Linked DNA regions of Homo sapiens: all the other regions are linked to region 1. The links are contacts of gene promoters, found by promoter capture Hi-C in blood cells and fetal thymus (Javierre and others, 2016). All regions are on one chromosome and are shown on one strand. The core of a region is centred on a gene start or on the middle of the fragment in contact, and the rest is flanking DNA. Distances in the headings are between cores, read along the strand shown.

The links. Contacts are between HindIII fragments. The CHiCAGO score rates a contact against its expected background, and 5 or more counts as called.
Region 2: a contact is called between a fragment that was not itself captured here and the fragment with the promoter of KPNB1 in region 1, in 1 of 17 cell types (neutrophils). The highest score is 5.1, in neutrophils.
Region 3: a fragment that was not itself captured here is called in contact with the fragment with the promoter of KPNB1 in region 1 in 1 of 17 cell types (erythroblasts); the score reaches 5.1 in erythroblasts.
Region 4: a contact is called between a fragment that was not itself captured here and the fragment with the promoter of KPNB1 in region 1, in 4 of 17 cell types (erythroblasts, naive B cells, megakaryocytes and 1 more). The highest score is 10.5, in erythroblasts.
Region 5: a fragment that was not itself captured here is called in contact with the fragment with the promoter of KPNB1 in region 1 in 1 of 17 cell types (neutrophils); the score reaches 5.0 in neutrophils.
Region 6: a fragment that was not itself captured here is called in contact with the fragment with the promoter of KPNB1 in region 1 in 4 of 17 cell types (erythroblasts, total B cells, megakaryocytes and 1 more); the score reaches 8.3 in erythroblasts.
Region 7: a contact is called between a fragment that was not itself captured here and the fragment with the promoter of KPNB1 in region 1, in 1 of 17 cell types (neutrophils). The highest score is 5.2, in neutrophils.

The regions. Positions count from the first base shown.
Region 1 is chr17:47,647,690-47,651,417 of GRCh38, forward strand. KPNB1 (karyopherin subunit beta 1) reads left to right here and starts at 2,230. Exons shown (of 22, transcript NM_002265.6): 1 at 2,230-2,595; 2 at 2,697-2,755. The coding sequence starts at 2,556. KPNB1-DT (KPNB1 divergent transcript) reads right to left here and starts at 1,739. Exons shown (of 4, transcript NR_171700.1): 1 at 1,707-1,739. RefSeq lists an enhancer at 385-1,230 and silencers at 1,631-1,900, 1,911-1,960, 1,971-2,150, 2,581-2,650, 2,761-2,900 and 1 more. The HindIII fragment of the contact is 6,441 bases long and covers 1-3,728 here.
Region 2 is chr17:47,951,766-47,955,383 of GRCh38, forward strand. It overlaps PRR15L (proline rich 15 like), which reads right to left. Exons shown (of 2, transcript NM_024320.4): 2 at 202-1,498. The coding sequence starts at 1,469. The coding sequence ends at 1,158. Among named protein-coding and RNA genes, the nearest start is that of PRR15L, 4.3 kb to the right of the region's middle. The HindIII fragment of the contact is 2,443 bases long and covers 186-2,628 here.
Region 3 is chr17:47,282,175-47,286,006 of GRCh38, forward strand. ITGB3 (integrin subunit beta 3) reads left to right here. Exons shown (of 15, transcript NM_000212.3): 3 at 1,180-1,375; 4 at 2,269-2,521. Among named protein-coding and RNA genes, the nearest start is that of ITGB3, 30 kb to the left of the region's middle. The HindIII fragment of the contact is 5,999 bases long and covers 1-3,832 here.
Region 4 is chr17:47,318,284-47,321,823 of GRCh38, forward strand. It overlaps EFCAB13-DT (EFCAB13 divergent transcript), which reads right to left. Exons shown (of 3, transcript NR_110880.1): 2 at 189-337. Among named protein-coding and RNA genes, the nearest start is that of EFCAB13-DT, 3.8 kb to the right of the region's middle. The HindIII fragment of the contact is 6,957 bases long and covers 1-3,540 here.
Region 5 is chr17:47,974,632-47,978,321 of GRCh38, forward strand. CDK5RAP3 (CDK5 regulatory subunit associated protein 3) reads left to right here. Exons shown (of 14, transcript NM_176096.3): 6 at 528-706; 7 at 883-1,022; 8 at 1,238-1,382; 9 at 2,081-2,191; 10 at 3,201-3,279. Among named protein-coding and RNA genes, the nearest start is that of CDK5RAP3, 5.4 kb to the left of the region's middle. RefSeq lists an enhancer at 768-1,268. The HindIII fragment of the contact is 8,194 bases long and covers 1-3,690 here.
Region 6 is chr17:47,349,751-47,353,665 of GRCh38, forward strand. All of the region lies in intron 9 of EFCAB13 (EF-hand calcium binding domain 13), which reads left to right. Among named protein-coding and RNA genes, the nearest start is that of EFCAB13, 28 kb to the left of the region's middle. The HindIII fragment of the contact is 191 bases long and covers 2,469-2,659 here.
Region 7 is chr17:47,924,095-47,927,660 of GRCh38, forward strand. SP2 (Sp2 transcription factor) reads left to right here. Exons shown (of 7, transcript NM_003110.6): 5 at 825-999; 6 at 1,254-1,447. The region is part of intron 1 of SP2-AS1 (SP2 antisense RNA 1); the gene reads right to left. Among named protein-coding and RNA genes, the nearest start is that of SP2-AS1, 16 kb to the right of the region's middle. RefSeq lists an enhancer at 3,275-3,566. The HindIII fragment of the contact is 7,634 bases long and covers 1-3,566 here.

The sequences.
Region 1 (3,728 bases), core at 980-3,479:
CCCTACATTTCTAGCTTCAAAACTGCAAAGATATCTCTAGCAGAGAAAGACCATTTCTTCCTCTTTTAACAAAGAGTTGGCCAATCTTTCCTAATTCTTTGTGAAACCTTTCAACAAAGTCAGACTTCCTCCTAGGTTTTCCCAGTGTGGCTACTGCAGGGCAATTACCTCACAAGCTCAAGTCATATGGTAAAAAGCTCTATGAACCAGCTACATCCAATTACCCCTACATCATTACTGTGAAAATGAAACAATTCAAGAAATTCTTTGTTACCATTTATTTTTTCTTTTTTTGAGAGTCTTAACTGTCGCCCAGGCTGAAGTGCAGTGGTGAAGTCTTGGCTCACTGCAACCTCTGCCTCCCGGGTTCAAGAGATTCTGTCTCAGCCTCCTGAGGAGCTGAGATTATAGGCGTGCGCCACCACGCTCGGCTAGGTTTTTTTTTTTTTTTTGTATTTTTAGTAGAGACAGGGTTTCACCATGTTGGCCAGACTGGTCTTGAACTCCTGACCTCAAGTGATCCGCCCGCCTCGGCCTCCCAAAGTGCTGGGATTACAGGCATGAGCCACCGCGCCCGGCCCTATTATTACACTTTTCCTTTATCATTTTAAAAATCTTCATTTTTTTTAAAAGAGACAGGATCTCGCTAAGTTGTCCAGGTTAGTCTTGAACCCCTGGGCTCAAGCGATCCTCCCAAAGTCCTGGGATTGCAGGCCTGAGCCACATACTGTATGCACATTTTTTTTCTTTTCTTTGAGATGGAGTCTCGCTCTGTCGCCAGGCTGGACTGCAGTGGCGCGATATCGGCTCACTGCAACCTCTGCGTCCAGGGTTCAAGCGATTCTCCTGCCTCAGCCTCAGGAATAGCTTGGACTTCAGGTACGCGCCACCACACCGGGCTAATTTTTTATATTTTAGTAGAGACGGGGTTTCACCATGTTGGCCAGGATGGTCTCGATCTCTTGACTCGTCATCCGCCCCCCTCGGCCTCCCAAAGTGCTGGGATTACAGGCGCGAGCCACAGCGCCCGGCCCACGTTTTCTTTATATGCATTTTGCTAAGAAAAGGCATTCATGAGTTTCTTCCGGGGTTGAGAACTGAAACAGGTTAAGAACCACAATCCTTTATTCCTGTACACACATTCTTTCTGGTTCGAGGTTGGGCCTTTACAGGGTACTTTTGGAGGGTGAAACATTTCCATCCTGTCAAGTACCTGGTAGCTATGGATGGGGGGTCTAAGAGGAGGAATCCCTTAGCTCACCCCTAAGCAAGTCAGATTTATCACAGCACAGGTCTCAAGCCCCATATAAGCAGGCTTAGGGGACTCCTTGGAGAGGAAGCTGCTTGTAGGGACAAGGGCCGTCAGGAGAGCTTGAGCTTATCAAGCCACTAACCAGCTGTGTGACCTTGGACAAGTTCCAGACCCTCTCTGGGCTCCTGAACCCATTCCTTACCAAGCCATTAACCAGCTGTGTGACCTTGGACAAGTTCCATACCCTCTCTGGGCTTCAGTTTCCACATCTACACATTGGCAGTGGAGCCACATGGCCTTACGGATCCCTCCCAGCCGAAAGCAGGGTACCAAGCCGACCTAGCCATTAAAGCAGCTTCCTGTGGGCGCGGCGCAGGACTTCAACAGTCCCCCCTCCCCCGCTCAGGCCCGCGAAAACCTCGCGCAACACGCCCCTCGGAGCGACGGCGCTTACCCAACCGCAGCCCCAGCGCTCGAACCCAGCTCCGCCTCTTCCCGGGGGCGTCCCATCGTGCCCCGCGCCGGGCTCCTAGGGTTGCCGGGCACCTCCCGCCTTCCCGCGCCCCGACCCCGAACTCCTCTCCTTAGTTCTCCCGGGCACCCTATCCTATCAACGCCTACTATCCCAGCCAATCGCGCAGGATCCGAGTCGTGCCTCCGGTCCACCCTCCTCCCAGCGCTCAGCCGGTCTGAGCTCAAGGCCTTTACCAAGCCCACCCAATCAACGGCGGGCTCTCTCCTACCCCATCCCAATCTCCCTCCCCTCGGCCAATCCGCGCGCTCCATTCCGCTGCCCGCCCAGCCAACCCGGGCCTTGAAACCAGCAGGCGAATGGGCGCGAGACGGCCCTTCGACGCTGAGCGCCTGGCCAGTTAGGGATTCCGCGTGGCCAGGACAACGGCCAATCGTCGTGGAGCGCGGCGCCTCCGCGGAGAGGTCCGGTCCGAATATCCCTCCGCCTTCCTCCCTCCCTCGCTCCCTCCCTGCGCGCCGCCTCTCACTCACAGCCTCCCTTCCTTCTTTCTCCCTCCGCCTCCCGAGCACCAGCGCGCTCTGAGCTGCCCCCAGGGTCCCTCCCCCGCCGCCAGCAGCCCATTTGGAGGGAGGAAGTAAGGGAAGAGGAGAGGAAGGGGAGCCGGACCGACTACCCAGACAGAGCCGGTGAATGGGTTTGTGGTGACCCCCGCCCCCCACCCCACCCTCCCTTCCCACCCGACCCCCAACCCCCATCCCCAGTTCGAGCCGCCGCCCGAAAGGCCGGGCCGTCGTCTTAGGAGGAGTCGCCGCCGCCGCCACCTCCGCCATGGAGCTGATCACCATTCTCGAGAAGACCGTGTCTCCCGGTAGGACGCAGGAGCCGGGGGTAGGGCTGAGGTGATTGGGGTGGGGGAGGGGAGGCCCGGCCCCTCTGACCCCGCTCCGTCTCCCACTTTCCTCCCCCTAGATCGGCTGGAGCTGGAAGCGGCGCAGAAGTTCCTGGAGCGTGCGGCCGTGGAGAACCTGGTGCGTGCTACCCCGCCGCGCCCATCCCGCCGCGTCCCCATCCCCTGCGTGCGGGGCCTTCCCGCCCTCCCGGAGGCCCAGGCCTCGGGAACCTACCCCGCCCCATCCCGTCCCCCTCCCCCCTCCCCCTCCCCCCCCAACCCGGTCCAACCTAACCCCGCCATCGGGAAGCCGGTGGGTGTGTCCCGCCCCGGGCCTCGCGACTGGCCAATGGCTTGGCGCGCCGAGCTGCCTGCCGCCCAATCGTTGCGCGGCCTGAGGGCGGCGGTGCAGCGGGAGGGAGAAAGAGGGAGGGAAGGGAAGTTAGGTTGCGCGGCGCTGCGTGTTCAGCAGGGGTGGGGGCGGGGGAGTCGGGCCTAGGGGCCATGTGGAAGCTCCGGGCCCGGCCGCCCGCCCTGTCTGACCCCGGCCGGCTTCTCCTTCCTATCCCGTGGCCCCTGTGGCTCTCCCCACCTATTTCCTAGAGCTCTGCCCTTTCCTAGCTACCTTGGTCTGTACTCATGGCCAGGCCTGGCACCCGACTGCCTCTTAACCCATTTCCACTGATATTTTTCCCTCTTTGCTCGGTTATTCCTCTCTTGGGGTTTTTTCTTTTTCTTTCTTTCTTTTTTTTTTTTCTTCTGACCTGGATGAATAGAGACCTAATCACTAGGGATCTGCACCCAGAAAACAGACTGAGGCTCATCTTTGAGATGGGGCCTGTTTGCTGATGAAATCACAGGGGAAAGTTCCTCGTTTTTCATATTTTAAAATTTAAGGGGTCCGGAGAAAATGAAGCTAAGTCCGCTAGAGACTGGTCCTTTGTATAAAAATGTGGGATGGATTGGTTGAAACAGCCTAGATGCCAGTTAAGTTTCTCTTTGGTGTCCATCTCCTGTTGGGGGATGGGGTCAGAGGGAAGGATTGGATGATGCTTGACATCTTTGAGAAAGGTAATAGGAATTAAGTCTGAGTAACACTAACCATATGTGTT
Region 2 (3,618 bases), core at 157-2,656, 300 kb after region 1:
GGTCAATCACCAAAGGTCTGCCCTACTCTCTTAGAGCACCTGACGGGCTCTCTGTTGACTGGAGAGAACTGACCACTGAGGTGTAACTAGCTCCTTCTGCTGCCCCATCCCCATACTAAGGCTAGTTTGATGGTAAAAATTAGTGACCCAGTTCCTACATTGTCACACCTGGGAACCCTTCCTGAAGCTTGAAAGGAACAGTTTGAGCACAAAGGTCCACTTTACTTACATGAAGGAACATAAAGGCATGAGAAACAGTCATCTCAATAAATGCAAGACATGAGCATAAAAGAGGTTCTCTGCCTTTCCAGCGTTGTTATTACAGAGAGAAACCTACAATTATTTTGTTAAACAAAATTCAAGGCTCCAGGACTCATCTCTGGAGCTGATATGTCTTAAATACTATTATAGTAGGAAAGGGAGAGGAGAAAATTCCCCACCCACTCCCCCGATTTGGCCCGTGTAGCTTCCCTTTGAGGGTGTGTGACTTGCCATCTGCAAAAGTCATGGCCAAAACAGGAACTAACAGGCCAAACTACCATCAATCTAGTCTTCTACAGCACCCTAACAGAGTGCCAGGGTCCTCTGTCCCCTCCGCACCTGAGGGCAAAGTTCCAGGAAGTTTACTGCCGGTGTTAGGAGGTGAGCTCAAGTTCAGTGTCTCTGCCTCTGGCTCCACAGAAACCAGCCCCTATCACGTGGCTTCTGGAAAATGTGCCCTCCTCAGGATTGGTCCAGGGAGTAGTCACAGGTAGAGAAAGTAAAGGGAGCAGCAATTGAAACTCGCCCTTGACCCTGTGTCCAGTAAGGAGGTGAAGTCTGTCTGGCTCACTCTCTCCATTCCCTGCCATGCCCACCTCCCTGCTGGCCCTGCCATTGCTTCAAGGAGGGCTGTTCCTCCTGGGTGAGACTTTTCACTCTTGAACTAGAGTGCCTTTGTATGTGGTCAGGGGGAGGGTGGAGGACCCTGGGATCTCCCAGGCCTTACAAAAGTGGCGGCACATAAATACAAACCTAAAAAACAGCCATTTCCTGCCAGCAGGTATCAACTGGCCCCACAGCTTCAGCTATGGCCAAAGAGGCCAGCGTGGCAAGGTCCTGTCTCAGATCTGGCTGATGGCAGGGAGCCAAGAGGTGCTAGCACCCTCCTCAGCCCTTCACTTTGATGACCGTCCTTCCTCGTGATCATCAAAGAGGTTAGGGTTCTCTGCCAGCGTGGCTCTCACTTTCTTCTTCTCCTTGAAGCGTCCTGAGTTGGAGACCTTGACGTGCTTGCCCTTTGTGCTCTTGTCCACAATCTTCTCCAGGCGGGTGTTAAAGTCGCTGTTGGGGCCTCCAGCGTCAGGCCTCGGGGGTTCTGCATCTCCCTCTGTTTGGGCATAGGTGTCAGGGATCTCATACAGCACTTTGGGAGTGGATTTCTTTTTCCGGAGGAAAGTCAGCTTCCACCAACCAATTTCAGTCGTCATGGCGCTCCCTAAGCCAAGGATGGGGCTTTCTGCTGGAGCAGGGTGGGGGAGACAAAGGGGTCAGTGGGAAAAGGGGGTGGGTGCCTTTGGACCAGCTTGCTGCAGACTCCTAATCATGGGCTGTTTTAAGAATTAAATAAAGGGCTGGGCGTGGTTCTTCATGCCTATAATCCCGGCACTTTGGGAGGCCAAGGCAGGTGGATCACCTAAGGCCAGGAGTTCAAGACAGGCCTGGCCAACATGGTGAAATCCCGGCTCTACTAAAAATACAAAAATTAGCTGGGCGTAGTGGCACGCACCTGTAATCCCAGCTACTCGGGTGGCTGAGGCAGGAAAACCACTTGAACCCGGGAGGCAGAGGTTGCAGTGAGCTGAGATCATGCCACTGCACTCCGGCCTGGGTGACAGAGTGAGACTATCTCAAAAAAAAAAAAAAAGAAAGAAGAAGAAGAAGAAGAATTAAAGAAAGAATTTAAGGTAGGGCTGAATAAACCCAAGATTCAGGTCAGTGGGGTGACACAATGCTTTTGGAGAGTGTGAGACAAGAAAAGGGTCAAAGTCAAGGTCAAGACAGGGAAGCCACTCGCCAGACAGAGAGGCAGTGGGACAGGCACACACCATTGCCCTGCAGGGTTGTCAGGAGCTTTGAGATAATTCCTGCCAGGCCCCTCAGGGCCACAGGCAGGTGGACAGCTTGCCTGAGTCACACAGCATCCAGGCCTTTGATGCTCTTCCCAAACTTCCCACTATACCACCAGACCCTGCTGCCAGGCATGGGCAGACCATTGACTGGTAGCATAGGGAGGGAAACACCCTGTGCATTTTGCTTGGAATTCATTACAAAATTAAATATAATTAGTGGCATTCCAAGCAATTTGAACTTCCCAGTGGTGACCAGCAGGGCTAAAGTAACTGCTGGGCTGTTCCTAAGGCAGGAGTCAGATCCTCAGGCTGGGAGTGGGAAGTCCTGGGGGCTGTCCTAGCCTCATGACCACTGGCAAGCCACCACCTCTCTGGGCCTCAGTTTCCTCACCCATCCCATCCAGCACTAGCATTTAGCTCTACTGTTAATCCCTGCCCACAGAGGTAACCATGCATTGCAAAGTAAAACTTACGATAATGGGAATAATTACTAAGGGATGGTTCCCTTTCCCCACCAAGCTTCCACAAGGACAGGAGTTGGAAGGGGAGCTAAAAAGGCAGAAAGCAGTTAGAAGGATCCCAGAAGTACAGGGGAGACATGGTCATCACAGGTTGTACCTTGCAGGGTGGGGCTTGGGGCTGAAATCCAGGCTTCTCCACTCACAGGCCATGTGTCCTGCCATGGAGCTGCCTTCCCTGGGGGCTCACCTTTGACTAATTTCCACAAAGGTACTATATGAGCTAGCGGAACTTCTCGGAGAGGAGGTTGCCTGGACATCATTGATTGCTGGGGTATGTAAGATAGAAGCAGATGACAGTCTGCTAGATGAAGGAAGATCAATGACAGAACAGGTAGAGGAACACTGATGACTGGTGAGGTCGGTGGTCTTGTTCTCAGGATGCCTAGCTGCCGGCTGTGAAAGCTCCCAGGAAGGAAGGCGCAGCCAGTGTACACCAGAAAGCTAGAGGGTATCACCTCCTTTTAAAAACTGGAAGTGTTCACTCCATTTTTGAAAAAGACCAGAAAGACACTCCAAATGATGTGCCTTTTTTTTTTCTTTTTTTTTTTTTTGAGACAGAGTCTTGCTTATTGCCCAGGCTGGAGTAAAATGGCATGATCTCGGCTCACCACAACCTCCACCTCCCAGGTTCAAGCGATTCTCCTGCTTCAGCCTCCCGAGGAGCTGGGATTACAGGCATGCGCCACCACGCCCGGCTAATTTTGTATTTTTAGTAGAGACGGGGTTTCTCCATGTTGGTCAGGCTGGTCTCGAACTCCTGACCTCAGGTGATCCACCCACCTCGGCCTCCCAAAGTGCTGGGATTACAGGCATGAGCCACTGTGCCCAGCCCAATAGTGCCTTTCTTTATGTAGGAGTAGAGGATGCTTTCTCTTCTCTAGTTTTCTGATTTCTGGAATTTCCATGATGAGTATAGATTATTTTAGGGGTGGGGGAGCATATCAAATTTAGGAAAGAGGAGAGCACGACGCAGGCCTAGACTTTAC
Region 3 (3,832 bases), core at 480-2,979, 370 kb before region 1:
CTGACCTCAGGTGATCTGCCCACCTCAGCCTCCCAAAGTGCTAGGATTACAGGCATAAGCAACTGTGCCTGGCCCATCTTAACCATTTTTAAGCATACAGTTCAGTGGCATGAAGTACATTCATAATGTCATGAAACCCCTCACCACCATCTATCTCCTTAACTCTTTTCATCTTGTAAAACTAAAACTCTGTACCCATCAAAACAGTAATTCTCTATTCCTCCCAGTCCCTGGAAACTACTATTCTACTTTTTGACTCTATGATTTTGATTGCTGTTAAGTACTGAAGGAGGGACTGTTATTATGTTCGTGTTACAGCTGAGGAAACTAGGCTTGGAGGAATTAGGTGACTTGCCTTAGTAAGCAGTTGTAAGTGCAATGCTGAGATTTACTCCTGTGCTCTTAGCCCTGACTCTCTCCTGCCTCCTTACACTGCCTTTCCCTATCACATTTGTGGTAAGTCCTAGGTCGGATGCTGGGAAATGAGAGGGGCCAAGACACACACAGTCCCTGACTACATGGATCTCACAGTCTAGCCCGTGTCAAATACAGTAGCTTCCAAACTGTTTTGACTCTGACCTACAGAAAGAAACACACTGTACTGGGTATAGTTATTTATTATATGTGTTATTCTCCACTCTCCTCCAACAATATAAGAATTTCACAAAACAACCCTTTGACTATTTGTACACTTTCATATTTTCTATTCTATTCTATTGTATTTTATTTAACAAAATGATGGTTGACACCTGCTAAATTGATTTTGGGACCCACAAATGTGTGGTATTCCACAGTTAAAAAATGCTGGTCTACCAGGCATCTTACTGTACAGGCTCTCCTTCTAGCTACAACTCCATGAATAGGCCTTCTTGATATCTCAATTTCTCTTTTCTTTTTCCTTTTTTTTTTTTTGGTAGAGACGGGGTCTAGCTATGTTGCCTAGGCTGGTCTTGAACTCTTGGCCTCAAGCAGTCCTCATGCCTTGGCCTCCCAAAGTATCAATTTCCCCTTTCTGTACAACGGTCCTAAGGGATTATCCCAGGAAAGACCACAACAATTTGTTTATGCTCCAATGTACGGGGTAAACTCTTAGCTATTGGGAAGTGGTAGGGCCTGCAGGAGGTAGAGAGTCGCCATAGCTCTGATTGCTGGACTTCTCTTTGGGCTCCTGTCTTACAGGCCCTGCCTCTGGGCTCACCTCGCTGTGACCTGAAGGAGAATCTGCTGAAGGATAACTGTGCCCCAGAATCCATCGAGTTCCCAGTGAGTGAGGCCCGAGTACTAGAGGACAGGCCCCTCAGCGACAAGGGCTCTGGAGACAGCTCCCAGGTCACTCAAGTCAGTCCCCAGAGGATTGCACTCCGGCTCCGGCCAGGTAGGGCTGGGACTCTTTGCGGGGAGAGACCTGAAGCAGGTGGGCATAGAGCACAAGGTGGAGGTCTGAGGAGGAAGTCTTGGGGAAGTAGCTCAGAATGGAAATGGGGTGGGAAGACAAGGATGAGGGGGGAGGTGTGGGCAAGAGAATGGAAGAAAATAAGAGACGTTAGGACTTGAGTCAGAAGATCTGAGGTGAATCTTTACTGTATCATATATTAGCTATTTGACCTTGGACAAGTTACTTAACCCTTCAGACATAGTAGGTGCTCAAAAAATATTTGTTTCTTCTTTACCCAAGTGCCTGTTTTACCTAGCTTAGAGCTTTGTGTTGAGGTGCAAATGAGATATAGAACAAGAAAGCGACTTGTAAGCCCCCCTTTCATGGGGAATTGGGACAGGGGAATGGGGGCAGACACAATAGGTACACAAGACCTTTAGAGGGAGGAAGGGTTAGACTAAAGACAGAAATTTTGAAGCATTGATTTTGACTTTCCAACTAAGTCAAGAAGGATTTACCTACTATCAAGGCATGTGTTGGATGCAATGGGATTCAGAGAAGGGTAGGGTGCAGTTTCTGTCTTTTACAGAGTCTGAAGTGTAGTAACTATCAAAATCTCTGTGACTCACAGTGATAGACCCGTGGAACTCACAGGATTAGAAATCCCCTGGGATTTAGAGAAAGTGGAAAATTTTAGAATGGAAAAGAAGAGGTTAAAAATAGGAGGGTCAAGAGATTAGAAGAGTAATAGAATTGCAAAGGAAGAGGAAAAGGGACCAGGGCTTTCTGGTTTGCTTTGATCATGCAATTTCTTAGTCCCAACTGTATCCAAATCTGCTTATTCAATCTTGGTGGGAGAAGAAGATAAAAACTAACATCTTTCTGCCTTCCAGATGATTCGAAGAATTTCTCCATCCAAGTGCGGCAGGTGGAGGATTACCCTGTGGACATCTACTACTTGATGGACCTGTCTTACTCCATGAAGGATGATCTGTGGAGCATCCAGAACCTGGGTACCAAGCTGGCCACCCAGATGCGAAAGCTCACCAGTAACCTGCGGATTGGCTTCGGGGCATTTGTGGACAAGCCTGTGTCACCATACATGTATATCTCCCCACCAGAGGCCCTCGAAAACCCCTGCTATGAGTAAGTCCCTCCTCCAGACGCCAGGACAGCATCCTTTGCCCCAGGAAGGTCCAAGTCCTGGTTCCTATTTCTAGCTCTAGGATCACTTTGTTGGCTGTCTTCTTGCCAAACTATAGCTCCTTTCTACCTTGGTCTCCCTGTTTGGCAAATGGGCTAGCTTGTGGATCTGGAGTGTTGTGTCAATGGAGCCTAAGGCTGTTTGGAGAACCTAGAAAGAAAATTCATCAGCTTCTCAGTCTTGGTAACAAATAAATAGAAGGCAAGAGAGAATGGGAGGGAAATGACGTCAAAAGTAGAAAGAAATTTATGGATAAGGAAACCGAGAAATTACGATTACAGAAGGATCGATTCCATTGTTGGCATTATTGTCTTCATCAAGGCCGTGCATCCTGCAGGGTGAAAACAGAAGAAATGAAGTGCTAAGGAATATAAAAGAGTGGAAATGACATTTGTTGGACACTTTTATAGTCTGTAAATGGATAACTTGTGCCTCTGTTTGACACTTTGGCTTAAAACTGAATGGCTTATTTATTTAATCGGTGGAGACTGTGCAAATCCATGTATTAGAATAACTTACAATGCTGGTTGCTGAGCCTGAAAAGGTGTGAATTTACTTTTTAGTTTTCAAAGTTACGGCCAGGTGGGGTGACTCACTTCTGTAATCCCAGCACTTTGGGAGGCCAAGATGGGAGGATCACTTGAGCCTAGGAGTTTGAGTTCAGCCTAGGCAACATAGTGAGACCCCCATCTCTACAAAAATTACAAAAAAATTAGCTATGTGTGATGGCGCATGCCTGCAGTCCCCAGGACTACAGGGAGGCTGAGGTGGGAGGATTGATTGAGCCTGGGAGGTTGAGGCTGCAGTGAGCCATGATTGTGCCACTGCACTCCAACCTGGACAATGGAGCACAACTGTCTCTAAAAAAAAAAGAAAAAGTTTTGAAGTTATATGATGTGGCATTCAACCTTCTATCTGGGTTGTAAGGTTCCCAGGCAAGACATCAGCTATTAATTAAACACACTATTTTGACTGGGGGCAGAAATGCTCCTGTCTTGCATGATCTATCAATTTATTGATGGTTCAGGGACCTTAACTTACTGATGGACTTTTGCTTTATTGTTACTTTAGGAAAGTGTTAAGTATAAGGTGATAGTAATAGCAACTCGAGCCTCGCTCTGGTCTAAGTGCTTTGTGTGTATGAACTTACTTAAGTCTCACAACTCTTATGGGATATGTGCTATCCTGGCCCCTCTTTCATAGGTTGGATTGAGAGGCTTGCCAAAGGTCCCATGACTAGTACAGAGGGCACC
Region 4 (3,540 bases), core at 1-2,500, 330 kb before region 1:
TCTGGCCTCCAGAAACTTGGGATGATAAATTTGTGCTATTTAAGCCACTAAGTTTGTGGTAATTTGTTACCACAGCATAGGAAATGAATACAAATATCAAAGTGTTTGTGGACATATTTTAAGACTACCTCAGGCAACCCTCTGGTCACAAATTATTTATAGTTCTCCCACATGCAAAATAAACTTACCCCTTCTAAGGCCCCAAAGTCTTATCCCATTATAGCATCAATTCAAAGTTCAGAATCTTATCCTCTACGTAAGTCCAGGGAAGATGAGACTTCTTGGGTGTAATTCCTTAAATACAGCTACTCAAGTACATGCTTTTCAATCTGAAGTTCTGCGAACAAAAAGAAAAAGGTCATATGCTCCTTTCCCCACAGCAACCAATGTAAAACAGCAGGGGCAGGGAGATAACTGCTATAGACACTCCTGTTCCAACAGGTGGAAACCAAGGTGCACAGAAGTCACTGGTTCATAGCAATTCTGAAATCCATTTGAGTACAGGTTTGCAGTTCTACACTCAAAGCCTGGGAATAACTCCCTATGGCTTTTGGTTCCACCTTCTGGGCTCTTGGTTTTATCCTCTAAGTCATCCTTTTTTGTGTGAAAGGGAGATGTGTTTGGACCTAAATAGTTTTCTTAGCCTGCTTCCTGTTTGTAGAAATGCGTTTGTAGAAAGGGTCCAAAGGCCCCTTTCCTTTTTGTACTCTTTTTCAGCTCAAGCTGACAGTATTTCTGACAATACAATTCTCTTAAAACAATTTTTGAATCTACTGTGAATCTTACTGGGTTTTAGTCCAGGAGACAAAAGCCATGGCAGCAAATACCTTTGAGATATGTCTTTTTCTACCTTGGGCTTCTGCTGAAGGACAAAGACCTTAAGTTTCTTAGAAGCCCTATTGTTTGAATGAGAGGACCTGTGAGCCATACTCTTAAAATCTTTTTTCTGAGACGGAGTCTTACTCTGTCACCGAGGCTGGAGTGCAGTGGCGAGATCTTGGGTCACTGCAATCTCCGCCTCCCGGGTTCAAGCAATTCTCCAGCCTCAGCCTCCTGAGTAGCTGGGATTACAGGCACCCGCCACCACGCTCGGCTAATTTTTTTGTATTTTTGTAGAGATGAGGTTTCACCATGTTGGCCAGGCTGGTCTCCAACTCCTGACCTCAGGTGATCCACCCACCTCGGCCTCTCAAAGTGTTGGGATTACAGGCGTGAACCACTGCACCCAGCCACTCTTAAAATCTTTAGAGAGTCTTTGCCTGATTGAACAGTACTCCGAGGTACCATCCTTAAACACAACAGGCGTGGGGAGTGGGAAAGCGGGTGATGGAGGGTGGATTGAGGGGTATTTACAAAAATAAAAGACATGGTCTCAGCACTCAGATATTTCAGAATCTTTGGGGAGATAAACTATATACATTTAAAAAGCACTAAAGAATTACAGGTCATATCCCTAATGAGTATAGATACAAAAATCCTCAACAAAATACTAGCATACTGACTTCAACAATACATTCAAAGAATAATTCACCATGATCTAGTGGGATTTATCCCTGGGATGCAAGTATGGTTCAACATATGGGAATCTATAAATGTGATACACCACATAAACAAAAATCATATGATCATTTCAATAGATACATAAAAAGCATTTGATGAAATTAAACATCCTTTCATGATGAAAATTCTCAACAAATTAGGTATAGAAGGAACGTACCTCAACACAATAAAGGTCATATATGATAAGCCTACAGCTAACATTCTCAACAGTGAAAAGTTGAAGGCATTTCCTTTAAGATCAGGAACAAGAAAAGGATGCCCACTCTTACTGCTTTTTTTTTTTTCAACATAGCACTGGAAGTTCTAGTCAGAATAATTAAGCAAGAGAAATAAAAGGCATCTTAATAGGAAAGGAAGCATTGGAATTTTCTCTTTGTTGACAATATGATCTTATATATAGAAAACCCAAAAGACTCCACCAAAAAACTGTTAGAACTAATAAAGTCAGTAAAATTGCTGTACACAGTCAACACACAAAAATCAGCAGCATTTCTAGAGGCCAACAACAAATCCAAAAAAGAAATTAAGAAAATAATTCTACTTATATTAGCAAAAACCAAAACTGAAACAAAAAAGGTGTAAATTTAACCAAGAAAGTGAAAGATCTTTATACTAAAAACTAAAAAACACTGATGAAAGAAATTGGAAAAAACACAAATAAACGAAAAGACATCCCATGTTCTTGGAGTGGAATAATTAATATAATTAAAATGCCCATGCTACTCAAAGTGATCTATAGATTCAATGCAATTCCTATCAAAATTCCAGAGTTATTTTTCATGGAAATAAAAAAATCCTAAAATTCATATGGAACCGTAAAAGATCCCAAATAACCAAAGCAATCTTGAGCAAAAAGAACAAAGTTGGGCCAGGTGTGGTGGCTCACGCCTGTAATCCCAGTACTTTGGGAGGCCGAGGCGGGCAGATCATGAGATCAGGAGTTCAAGACCAGCCTGGCCAACATGGTAAAAAAAAAACCCCGTCTCTACTAATAATACAAAAAAATTAGCCAGGCGTGGTGGTGCGCGCCTCTAGTCCCAGCTACTTGGGAGGCTAAGGCAGGAAAATCACTTGAACCCAGGAGGTGGAGGTTGCAGTGAGCCGAGATTGTGCCACTGCACTCCAGCCTGAGAGACAGAGCCAGAATCCATCTCAAAAAAAAAAAAGCAAAAAAAAAACAAAGTTGAAGGCATCACAGTCCCTGACTTTAAAATAAACGACAAAGTTACAGTAATCAAAACAGCATGGTATTCCATAAAAACAGATGCATTGGCCAATAGAACATACTAGAGAGTCCAGAATTTACAGACAATTGAATTTTGATAAGGAGCCAAGAACACTCAATGGGGAAAGGAATCTCTTTGATAAAAACTGTTGGGAAACCATATATCCATGTGTAGAAAAATGAAATTGGACCCTTATCTCACACCGTATACAAAAGTCAAAATGGATTAAAGACTTACCTGTAAGACTGGAACTACTAGAAGAAAACATAGAGGGAAAGCTACTAGAAGAAAAAATAGAAGAAAGCCACTAGAAGAAAACAGGCGGAAAGCTCCACTACATTGGTCTGGGCATTTTTTTGGACATGACCTCAAGAACACAGGCGAGAAAACAAAAAATAAACACATGGAATTACATGAAACTAAAAACTTCTGCACATCAAAGGAAACAGTTAACAGAGTGAAGAGACAACCTGCTGAATGGGAGAAAATATTTACTAATTATACATCTGACAAGAGGTTAATATCCAAGATATACAAGAAACTCAGTAGCAAGAAAGCAAATAACCTGATTTTAAAAATAGACAAATAATCTGAATAGACTTTTAAAAAAAATTTTTTTTTGTAGAGATGAGGCTTCACTATGTTGCCCAGGCTGGTCTCAGATTCTTGGGCTCAAGCGGTCCTCCCACCTTGGCCTCCCAAAGTGCTGAGATTATGGGTGTGAGCCACCATGCCCAGCCTGACACAGCCATTC
Region 5 (3,690 bases), core at 769-3,268, 330 kb after region 1:
TGGGGGAAGGAGGAGGTCCAGGCCGGTAGTGGCCATTCGCCGTGCCTCAGCGAGCAGGTGTGTGTGGGTCCTCCACCACTCACCTCTTGGTTAGCGGGAGTGTGCTGCCCCCACCCCCACCCCCGCACCCCCATTCTACACAAGGCAGAAGAGGCACGGGTTTTTCTGGGAGCGAATATCAAGTGCCTGAGAGCAACTACAGGACTAACTGTGTTTGGGTTGGGTGTAGTATAAATAATAATAATGGCTAATATTTCCTGAGCATCTACTAAATGCAAGGAATTGTGCTTGGTGTGTCATGTGGATTCTCTCTTGCATCTTCATGATAAATGTTATTGTCGCTGTTTTACCGATGAGGGTTGGATTAGAGGGGTTAAACAACTTGTCTTAGGCTCCACAGCTGGGAACAAGTGGGGCTGGGAAGCTGACTTCGTGCTCTTCACCACCACAAAGGATGTGTGTGCATCCTGGGGCATGCCTGCCTCATGTGGGGGTGTCCTGGGCTGAATTTCCTGGGCACTTCTCAGTGGAACTCTCTAGCCTCCTGGTTCGGAATGTCAACTATGAGATCCCCTCACTGAAGAAGCAGATTGCCAAGTGCCAGCAGCTGCAGCAAGAATACAGCCGCAAGGAGGAGGAGTGCCAGGCAGGGGCTGCCGAGATGCGGGAGCAGTTCTACCACTCCTGCAAGCAGTATGGCATCACGGTGAGCGGCGGCAGCCTCTTCGCAGCCAGAGGACACCTGGGCCCCTGCTTGTCTTCCTCTGACCCCGTCTGACCCCTCAGCCTGGTTGCACCCCCTTTGGGCCAGTGTCTTACTTTTCTTCGGTCTTTGGATGTTTTCTTCAATCTGTTGGACTCCACCTCTTCTCCCCTCTCTAGGGCGAAAATGTCCGAGGAGAACTGCTGGCCCTGGTGAAGGACCTGCCGAGTCAGCTGGCTGAGATTGGGGCAGCGGCTCAGCAGTCCCTGGGGGAAGCCATTGACGTGTACCAGGCGTCTGTGGGGTTTGTGTGTGAGAGGTAGAGAGGCCTCAGCTTCTCCTGGTGGGGGTGCTTTGCCTGTGTTCCCCAGCTCATGACCCTTCTCCAGTTGTCTTGTTCCCATATAACATTTGAACTCTTTACACACCTGAACCTGTGGGGGCCTTGCCCATTTGACCATGTGGCCCAGGCCAAAGCCCAGTGTTGGCCTTACGCATGGTCGGCAGGAGAGTCAGTTGTGTGCTCTGTTGAAGCCCCACAGAGCAGGTGTTGCCAATGCTGCGGTTCGTGCAGAAGCGGGGAAACTCAACGGTGTACGAGTGGAGGACAGGGACAGAGCCCTCTGTGGTGGAACGACCCCACCTCGAGGAGCTTCCTGAGCAGGTGGCAGAAGATGCGGTAAGATGGGCCTTGTGATGAGCTGTAGGAGTGGAGTGGGAGCTGCTTGTCCCCTCCCCACCCCCAACAGCCCAACCCAAGACCCAGAGAGAAGAAGGGAGGATTTCTGTGAGAGTGACTGTAGGTAGAAGGGCCCAGGAGGCCCTACTCCTTTATTTTTCTGAGTATAGGTGAGTGAGTGCCACAGAGGCTTTGCAAGGTGGTTCGCTTTGAACTCGGAACCTCCATCATGTGAGCTCTCTGAAGATGGGCTTTCTTTGGGGTAGCTTAGAGGCCACTGCATTTGAACAGTGTGCTCTCTACAGAAGCAGCTGAGGCCTGTGGGAAGGCAGCCCCACCCTCCTTTTTAAATTAATTTATTTTTGAGACTGGGCCTTGCTCTGTTGCCCAGGCTGGAGTGCAGTGGCATGATCCTTGCTGACTGCAACCTCTGCCTCTCAGCCTCAAGCGATCCTCCCAAGTCAGCCTCCAAGATAGCTGGGATTACAGGTTTGCACCACCACTCCTAGCTAATTTTTTATTAACATCTTTGTAGGGACAGGATTTTGCCATATTGCCCAGGCTGGTCTCAAACTCCTGGGCTCAAGCAATCCACTATCCTCGGCCTCCCAAAGTACTGGGGTTACAGACATGAGCCACCATGCCCGGCCCTTTTTAAATCCATCTTCCATGAGCTAACACTCTCTTTCCCTTTCCAGATTGACTGGGGCGACTTTGGGGTAGAGGCAGTGTCTGAGGGGACTGACTCTGGCATCTCTGCCGAGGCTGCTGGAATCGACTGGGGCATCTTCCCGGAATCAGATTCAAAGGTGAGGAGGCCTTCTCAGTCTGTCTCTCTCTGATCACTACTCTAACCATAAGAAAAGTGTCATTTGTGTCTGTAACGGCATCACTTGAAGTTCATAGCTCTAAGACCAGGTATAGTCCAAGGGAGGCAGAGTTTCACACGTCACATGTCAGAGTTTTGTTTTGTTTTTTGAGACAGAGTCTCATTCTGTCGCCCAGGCTGGAGTGCAGTGGTGCAATCTCGGCTCACTGCAACTTCCGCCTCCCAGGTTCAAGTGATTCTCCTGCCTCAGCCTCCCAAGTAGCTGTGATTATAGGCGCCCACCACCACACCCCTCTAATTTTTTATTTTGTTTGTTTGTTTGTTGAGACAGAGTCTCACTCTGTCGCCCAGGCTGGAGTGCAGTGGCATCATCTTGGCTCACTGCAACCTCTGCCTCCCGGGTTCACGCCATTCTCCTGCCTCAGCCTCCTGAGTAGCTGGGACTACAGGCGCCCGCCACCACGCCCGGCTAATTGTTTTGTATTTTTAGTAGAGATGGGGTTTCACCATGTTAGCCAGATGGTCTCGATCTCCTGACCTCGTGATCCGCCCGCCTCAGCCTCCCAAAGTGCTGGGATTACAGGCGTGAGCCACCGCGCCCGGCTAATTTTTGTATTTTTAATAGAGACAGGGTTTCGCCGTGTTGGCCATGCTGGTAACTCCTGACCTCAGGTGATCCACCTGCCTCGGCCTCCTGAGGTGCTGGGATTACAAGCGTGAGCCACTGCGCCCAGCCCATGTGAGAGTTAAATTTTGATGTCCTTTTTCTTGGTGTTTGGTACAGGGTGTAGGGGTAAAGGCAGGTGGGAACACTACAGAGCAGGGATGATGGGCCATACTGCCATTTTTGGCACCTAAGTCAGGGCTGCAAATCCTTAATAGAGTTGGAATGTGCAGCCATTGACCTCATCAAGGGCTTTGGTTTATTCTGGCTCCTTGGCTCAGGAAAATTCTCCCCCCATTGCTGTGGTTCTTTGCTCTCCTTCCAGGATCCTGGAGGTGATGGGATAGACTGGGGAGACGATGCTGTTGCTTTGCAGATCACAGTGCTGGAAGCAGGAACCCAGGGTAAGTGCACCATCCCCTGCAGCCCTGGCAAAAGTGGGGTGCTCAAGGGCCCCCACGTGTCTAGAAACAAAAAATGCAGCGCTAAGATGAGGCTTCTTGCACATTTAACTGTTTCTCAAAACCTTGATGAGGATGTGAGCTGAGGGGGACCAAGAGAGGTTTTTTTTTTTTTTTTGGAGACGGAGTTTCGCTCTTGTTGCCCAGGCTGGAGTGCAATGGCATGATCTCAGCTCGCTGCAACCTCCACCTCCTGGGTTCAAGCTATTCTCCTGCCTCAGCCTCCCGAGTAGCTGGGATTACAGGCATGCACCACCACGCACAGCTAATTTTATATTTTTTTAGTAGAGTTGGGGTTTCTCCATGTTGGTCAGGCTGGTCTCGAACTCTTGACCTCAGGTGATCCACCTGCCT
Region 6 (3,915 bases), core at 1,314-3,813, 300 kb before region 1:
TGATGTTTCTTTTTTTTTTTTTTTTTTTTTTTTTTGAGACGGAGTCTCGCTCTGTCGCCCAGGCTGGACTGCGGACTGCAGTGGCGCAATCTCGGCTCACTGCAAGCTCCGCTTCCCGGGTTCACGCCATTCTCCTGCCTCAGCCTCCCGAGTAGCTGGGACTACAGGTGCCCGCCACCGCGCCTGGCTAATTTTTTGTATTTTTAGTAGAGACGGGGTTTCACCTTGTTAGCCAGGATGGTCTCGATCTCTTGACCTCATGATCCACCCGCCTCGGCCTCCCAAAGTGCTGGGATTACAGGTGTGAGCCACCGTGCCCGGCCTGATGTTTCTTATTTGGTCTCTCAGAATCCAGGTAAAAAAGACTTCTTCAAAAGTATAGAAGATAATACTTTTGTAACTGATTTTGGGGTTGGGAGGGGTGGTATTTTATATATGAATTAATTTATATTTTACAAATCTCCCACTAGTGTGGGCTGAGAAAAATGAGGAGTGAATTTTGTCATAAAAGGCATTACAAAACCTGGATTATACTGCCCCAATATTCAAACATTCTATCTCTGATCTCTAGTTTTCCTGCACATTAACTGCTAGACTAATTCTCTTAAAATACTATTTTCACCATGTCATTTTCCTGCTCAAGAATTTAGATGCTCTTCCTATTATCAAATGAATCTATAGAGGCCAAACTCTCATGCTTAGCCTCCTCACCCCTTCATAATTTTGTTCACCACTCTTACCTTTATCACAGAACCTTTCCCAGGCAAGAACCACATACTCGTTAGTCATAAATCTCCATACATGCCAATATAATTATTACTCCCACGCCTTTGTTTGTGTGTGTGTGTGTGTTTTTTTTTCTGTTGAAATCTCTCATCTGTTTTCTTCTTCATCCTTAACAGTACTTTCTTCCTTTTGCCAGGAGTCTTGTTTGTATCTCTTCCTAAAAATTTCAGATACTTATGGGTCTCCTAGTAACCTTTAGTTTACATTACCTATACATTATAAATAAAGTGGTTGGAAAGGGTATTCGTATTAATGGTAGAAACAGTACCTCCAAAAACATGAAATCTGTGGTGTTCATGACCTGATGTTAGCAATTCTTCTCTTCCTCCATTAGGCGATATCAAGTTCTTATGCTCGGTCCTTGGAATTATATAATTTTATTTTTTATTTGTATAAATTTAAGGGGTGCAAATGCAGTTTTGTTACAAGATATATTGCATCCTGGTAAAGTCTGGCTTTTAGTGTAACCATTATTCGAATAGTTATATATTTTACTTATTAAGTAATTTTTCATCCTTCACCCCCTTCCCACACTTCCAAGTCTCCAGTAACTATTATTTCATGCTCTATGTCCATGTGTACACATTTGGCTCCCACCTATAAATTTGGCTCCTACCTATAAATGGCTTTCATTATCTTAAGTGAAACAAGTCAGAAACAGAAAGTCAGATAGTTAATAGTTTCATCCATGTTGCTGTAAAATATGTTATTTCATTCTTTTCTGTGGCTGACTAGTATTCCACTGTGTGTGTGTGTGTGTGTGTGTGTGCGCGCGCGCGCGCGCGCGCGCGCCACGTTTTCTTTATCCAGTCATCCATTGATGGACACTTAGGTTGATTTTATGTCTTTGCTATTGTGGATTGTGCTGTGATAAACATATGAGTGTAGGTATCTTTTTGAGATAATGGTTTCTTTTCCTTTGGGCATATATACCTAGTAGTGGAATTGTTGGATCATACAGTAGTTCTATTTTTAGTTCTTTGAGAAATCTCCACACTGCTTTCCATTTTTTCATAATGCTCGTTTGGCCATTTATATATCTTCTTTTGAAAAATGTCTATTCATGTCATTTGCCCACTTTTTAACAGGATTATTTGTTGCTTTTGTTGTCTTTGATCTGTTTGAGTTCTTGGTACATTCTGGATATCAGTCCTTGTTGGATGCATAGTTTGCAAATATTTTCTCCTATTCTTCAAGTTGTCTGTTCATTCTGTTGATTATTTCTTTTGCTGTGCAGAAGCTTTTTAGTTTAGTTGTCTCATTTGTCTTTTTTTGTTGTTGTTGCTTGTGCTTTCGAGTTCTTAGTCATGAATTCTTTGCCTAGACCAATGTCAGTAAGAGTTTTCCTTGGGTTTTCATGTAGTTTTTTTTTTTTTTTTTTTTTAGATGGAGTCTCGCTCTGTTGTCCAGGCTGGAGTGCAGTGGTGCGATCTTGGCTCACTGCAAGCTCTGCCTCCTGGGTTCACACCATTCTCCTGCCTCAGCCTCCCATGTAGCTGGGACTACAGGTGCCCGCCACCACGCCTGGCTAATTTTTTTGTATTTTTAGTAGAGACGGGGTTTCACCGTGTTAGCCAGGATGGTCTCGATCTCCTGACCTCATGATCCTCCCACCTCGGCCTCCCAAAGTGCTGGGATTACAGGCGCGAGCCACCACGCCCGGCCTCATCTAGTATTCTTAAAGCTTCAAGTATTACATTTAAGTTTATATCCATCTTGAGTTGATTTTGTATATGGTGGGAGATAGGGGTCCAGTTTCATTCTTCTGTGAATGGCAATCCAATTTTCCCTTTACCATTTATTGAAAAGAGTGTCCTTTCACCAGTGTATGTTTTTGTCAACTTTGTCAAAGATCAGGTGGCTATAGATATGAAGCTTCATTTCTGGGTTCTGTTTTCTGTTCCACTGATTTATGTTTCTACTTTTATAGCAGTACCATGCTGTTTTGGTTACTATTATAGTATAATTTGATGTCAGGTAATGTGATGTCTCCAGCTTTGTTCTTTTGTTTAGGATTACATTGGCTATTTGGGCTCCTTTAGTTCCATGTAAATTTTAAGATTATTTTTTCTATTTCTGTGAAAAATGACATTGGTATTTTGATGGAGATTGCACTGAATCTGTAGATTGCTTTGGGCAGTATGGTCATTTTAATGATATTAAGTTTTTGATCCATGAGCATGGGATGTTTTTCCATTTGTTTGTGTTCTCTATAGTTTATTTCATCACTGTTTTGTAGTTTTCCTTGTAGAGATCTTTCACCTCTTTGGTTAAATGTATTCCTAGGTACTTTGTTTTTTGTAGCTAAGCTAAATGGCATTGCCTTCTTGATTGGTTCTCAGCTTGATACTAGTGTATAGAAATGCCACCGATTTTTGTATGTTGATTTTATCTACTTAAACATTACCAAATTTGTTTATCAAATCTCAGGGTTTTTTGGGAGGAGTCTTTAGGGTTTTCTCAGTATAAGATTATATCATCAACAAACAGACATAATTTGACTTCCTCTTTTCCAACTTGGATGCCTGTTACTTTTTTTTCTCTTGCCTGATTGCTCTGGCTAGGGCTTCCAGTAATATATTCAATAGGAGTGGTGAAAGTAGGCATCCTTGTTTTGTTTTGGTTCTTAGGAGGAATGCTTTAAACATTTCCCCATTCAGTAGGATGTTGGCTGTGGGTTTGTCATGTATGGCCTTTATTATTTTGAGGTATGTTCCTTTTATAGTGAATCAGATTGTATATTTATTTATTTATTTATTATTTTTTTTTATTTTTTGAGATGGAGTCTTGCTGTGTCATGCAGGCTGGAGTGCAGTGACACAATCTTGGCTCACTGCAACCTCTGCCTCCCGGGTTCAAGGGATTCTCCTGCCTCAGCCTCCCAAGTAACTGGTACTACAGGCATGCACCACCATGCCTGGCTAAATTTTTGTATTTTTAGTAGAGATGGGGTTTTACCATGTTGGCCAGGCTGATGTCGAACTCCTGACCTCAAGTGATCCGCCTGCCTTGGTCTCCCAAAGTGTTGGAATTACAGGTGTGAGCCACTGCACCCAGCCCAGATTTTATTTTGTTAGAATCAAGGATATGTGAATGTGATAGTCTTTATAGAACTGGATTAGCAAGTAA
Region 7 (3,566 bases), core at 185-2,684, 280 kb after region 1:
CCAAAGCCCATAGAACTGTGTCCTCTTTTGTGTTTTTTGGTTTTTTTTTTTTTAAGACATGGCCTCAGGGCCTCGCTCTGTCATCCAGGCTGAAGTGCAGTGGCACGATCATGACAATGCAGCCTCAGCCTCCTGGGCTCAAGCAGTCCTCCTACTTCTTCTTCCTGAGTAGCTGGGACTACAGGCATGTAGCACCATGCCCGGCCAATTTTTTAGTTTTTTGTAGAGATGGGGGTCTCCCTATATGCCCAGGCTGGTCTTGAACTCCTGGGCCCAAGCAATTGTCCTGCCTGCCAGAGTGCTGGGATTACAGCTATGAGCCACTGTACCTAGCCTGTGACCTCTTGTCTTTTTAACAGAAATCCCTGGAGACTTTCCTAAAAGCAGAGTTGGTATCTCACAGGGGCCTAAGGTTGGAGGAGATTCAGGAAGAAATGTCTTAAGACCCTTCCCAGCTGAAATCATGTTGGCAATATTCTAAAGCAAATTCTGCCTACATAGTACAGTGGTTCAGGGCACTGACTTTGAAATGGGCTTCCTGGGTTCAGATCTGGGTTCTACCACTTACTAGCTGTGTGATCTTGATATGTTATTGAGCCTCAGTTTCTTCATCTGTAAAGTGCTGATGATAGTACCTATTTTATAGGGTCATGGAGATTAAATGAGTCCCTGTACAAAGGTCCTTAAAATGATATCCAACATACAGCAGGCTCTCAAAAATAGCTGCTGTGATTATCATCTTTGTCATGTGCAGAAGGGCAGAAGGGTTGACTCGAGGTTTCAGGCTTCCTCACCCTGAACTCTGCCCCTCTTTGTCCCCACAGGGCAGCAGCAGCTGACAGTGCAGAATGTTTCTGGGAACAACCTGACCATCAGTGGGCTGAGCCCCACCCAGATCCAGCTGCAAATGGAACAAGCCCTGGCCGGAGAGACCCAGCCCGGGGAGAAGCGGCGCCGCATGGCCTGCACGTGTCCCAACTGCAAGGATGGGGAGAAGAGGTAATTCAAGGAGAAGGCCCAAGCCACAAGGCTGGCCTGTGTTCCCCAAGCCCCTCCTGGACAGTTGTCCAGAGCTGCAAGCTGGCACAGACCAGGCAAGGAAGAGCTGGCAGCTCTGTGCCACCTTGCCCCCTGCCTCCTTGTGCTCTCTGACCTGACCCCACATCCTCACTGCATCCTGTTCCTGCCCCATCCTCTACCGCTTTTCTCTCCTCTTCCTATTCCCTCCACTCCACCCTCACCCCAATTCTCAGGTCTGGAGAGCAGGGCAAGAAGAAGCACGTGTGCCACATCCCCGACTGTGGCAAGACGTTCCGTAAGACGTCCTTGCTGCGTGCCCATGTGCGCCTGCACACTGGCGAGCGGCCCTTTGTCTGCAACTGGTTCTTCTGTGGGAAGAGGTTCACACGGAGTGACGAGCTCCAACGGCATGCTCGCACCCACACAGGTCAGCCCCCTGCCTTCGGGACCCTCCACCCACAGAGGTCAAATTCCTGCCTCTCCTCCCACCCCCACTCTACCGGCTTTAGCAACATTGACACTCCTGGAACTGCCACACTGAGCAAAAGCTACAGACTATCTAGGGACGACATAGGAAATTATTTTCAAGCCATTCTGTTATCACTGTTGTTTCCCCAAGTAATGGGAAAGGAATAGTTGTCATTGCATGACACAACCTGATAACTTTTGCCATGTCAGCATAGTTATTTAACAAACACTGACATGGTATGCCAAGCACAGTACTAAGCACTTTACTGATTACCTCAGTTGATCCTGGTAAGAACTTTATGGGAAGATACTTTGTTTATGCCTTTTTTTTTTTTTTTTTTTTTTTTTTTTGGAGATGGAGTTTCGTTCTTTTGCCCAGGCTGGAGTGAAGTGGTGCGATCTCAGCTCACTGCAGCCTCCACCCCTTGGGTTCAAGCAATTCTCCTGCCTCAGCTTCTCAAGTAGCTGGGACTACAGGCACCCACCACCACACCCAGCTAATTTTTGTATTTTTAGTAGAGACGGGGTTTCACCATGTTGGCCAGGCTGGTCTCGAACCCCTGACCTCAGGTAATCCACCCACCTTGGCCTCCCAAAGTGCTAGGAATAGAGGCGTGAGCCACTGCGCCGGCCTGTTGATGCCCATTTTACTGAGGCATGGAGAGCTGGCCCAGTCACACAGCTAGTGACTGGTGCGGCCAGGTTCACACCCAGGCCCTGCCATGGCTTTTTGTTTTTTTTTTTTTTTAAGACAGGGTCTCACTCTTTCACCCAGGCTAGAGTGCAGTGGCACAATCTTGGCTCACTGTAGTGTTGAACTCCTGGGCTCAAGTGATTCTCCCACCTCAACCTCCTGAGTAGCTGGGACTACAGGCATGCACCACCACACCTGGCTAATTTTAAAATTTTTTTAGAGACAGGGTCTTACTGTGTTGCCCAGCCTGGTCTCAAACTCCTGGACTCAGATGATCCTCCCTCTTCTGCCTCCCAAAGTGAGATATCACAGTTATAGTTTTAGGTACTAGCAAATCAATGCAAAACTATTAAAAATATTGATCCAAGCTGGGCACAGTGGCTCACACCTGTAATCCCAGCTCTTTGGGAGGCTGAGGCAGGTGATCACTTGAGCCTAGGAGTTCGAGACCAGCCAGGGCAATATAGCGGGAGCCCATCTCTTAAAAAAAAAAAAGGATTATACATCTACCACCTGAAATTGTCCTGGGTATCCACAGTGGTCCACACATACACTTTGGCAAACAGTGCTATAGTGAATGCCCACAGTGAGCAGACACCTGTCCTGGGGCTAGAGGGCTGAGGGAAGCGTGACCCAGAGCTCCGGCTCCTGGCCAGTGTGGTGGGACAGGTCCTACTCCCCAAAAGGCAGAGGAGTCAACACTCCACAGAAAAGCAGTTGGGGTCAACATGGTTCCAACTGAGTGCTCAGGGCTGGCAAGGTCAGGGTGGAGGGGGATTTTCCTGTGATGGGGAGGATGCTGATCCAGGTTCAAAGTCAGAGGGACAAAAGAAGAAAGCAGGCAGACAGCCTTGCACAGGAAGACTCTTAGGTGCAGAGGCTCCAGGGACAAGGAATGGGAACGAAATAGACTGGAGAGGTCAAATGGGGGGTCAGAGAGAAATGAGAATTGATAAAGAGATTTAGATGAGTAGGGGCCAAGCATGATGGCTCGTGCCTGTAATCCCAGCACTTTGGAAGGCCAAGGTGGGCGGATCACTTGAGGTCAGGAGTTCGAGACCAGCCTGGACAACATGGCGAAACCCTGTCTCTACAAAAATACAGGAATTAGCTGGGTGCAGTGGCGGGCATCTGTAGTCCCAGCTATTTGAGAGGCTGAGGCAGGAGAATTGCTTGACCTGGGAGGTGGAGGTTGCAGTGAGTGGAGATTGTGCCACTGCACTCCAGCCTGGCCAGCAGAGTGAGACTCCATCTCAAAAAAAAAAAAAAAAAAAAAGATATAGATGAGTAAGCACCAGTGAGCAAATGTGAGAGCAGGAGGTGGGCAGAATGTGGTGACAAGGCCATGTCAGCTTGATTGGGTGCACCTCACACGCACCCCACC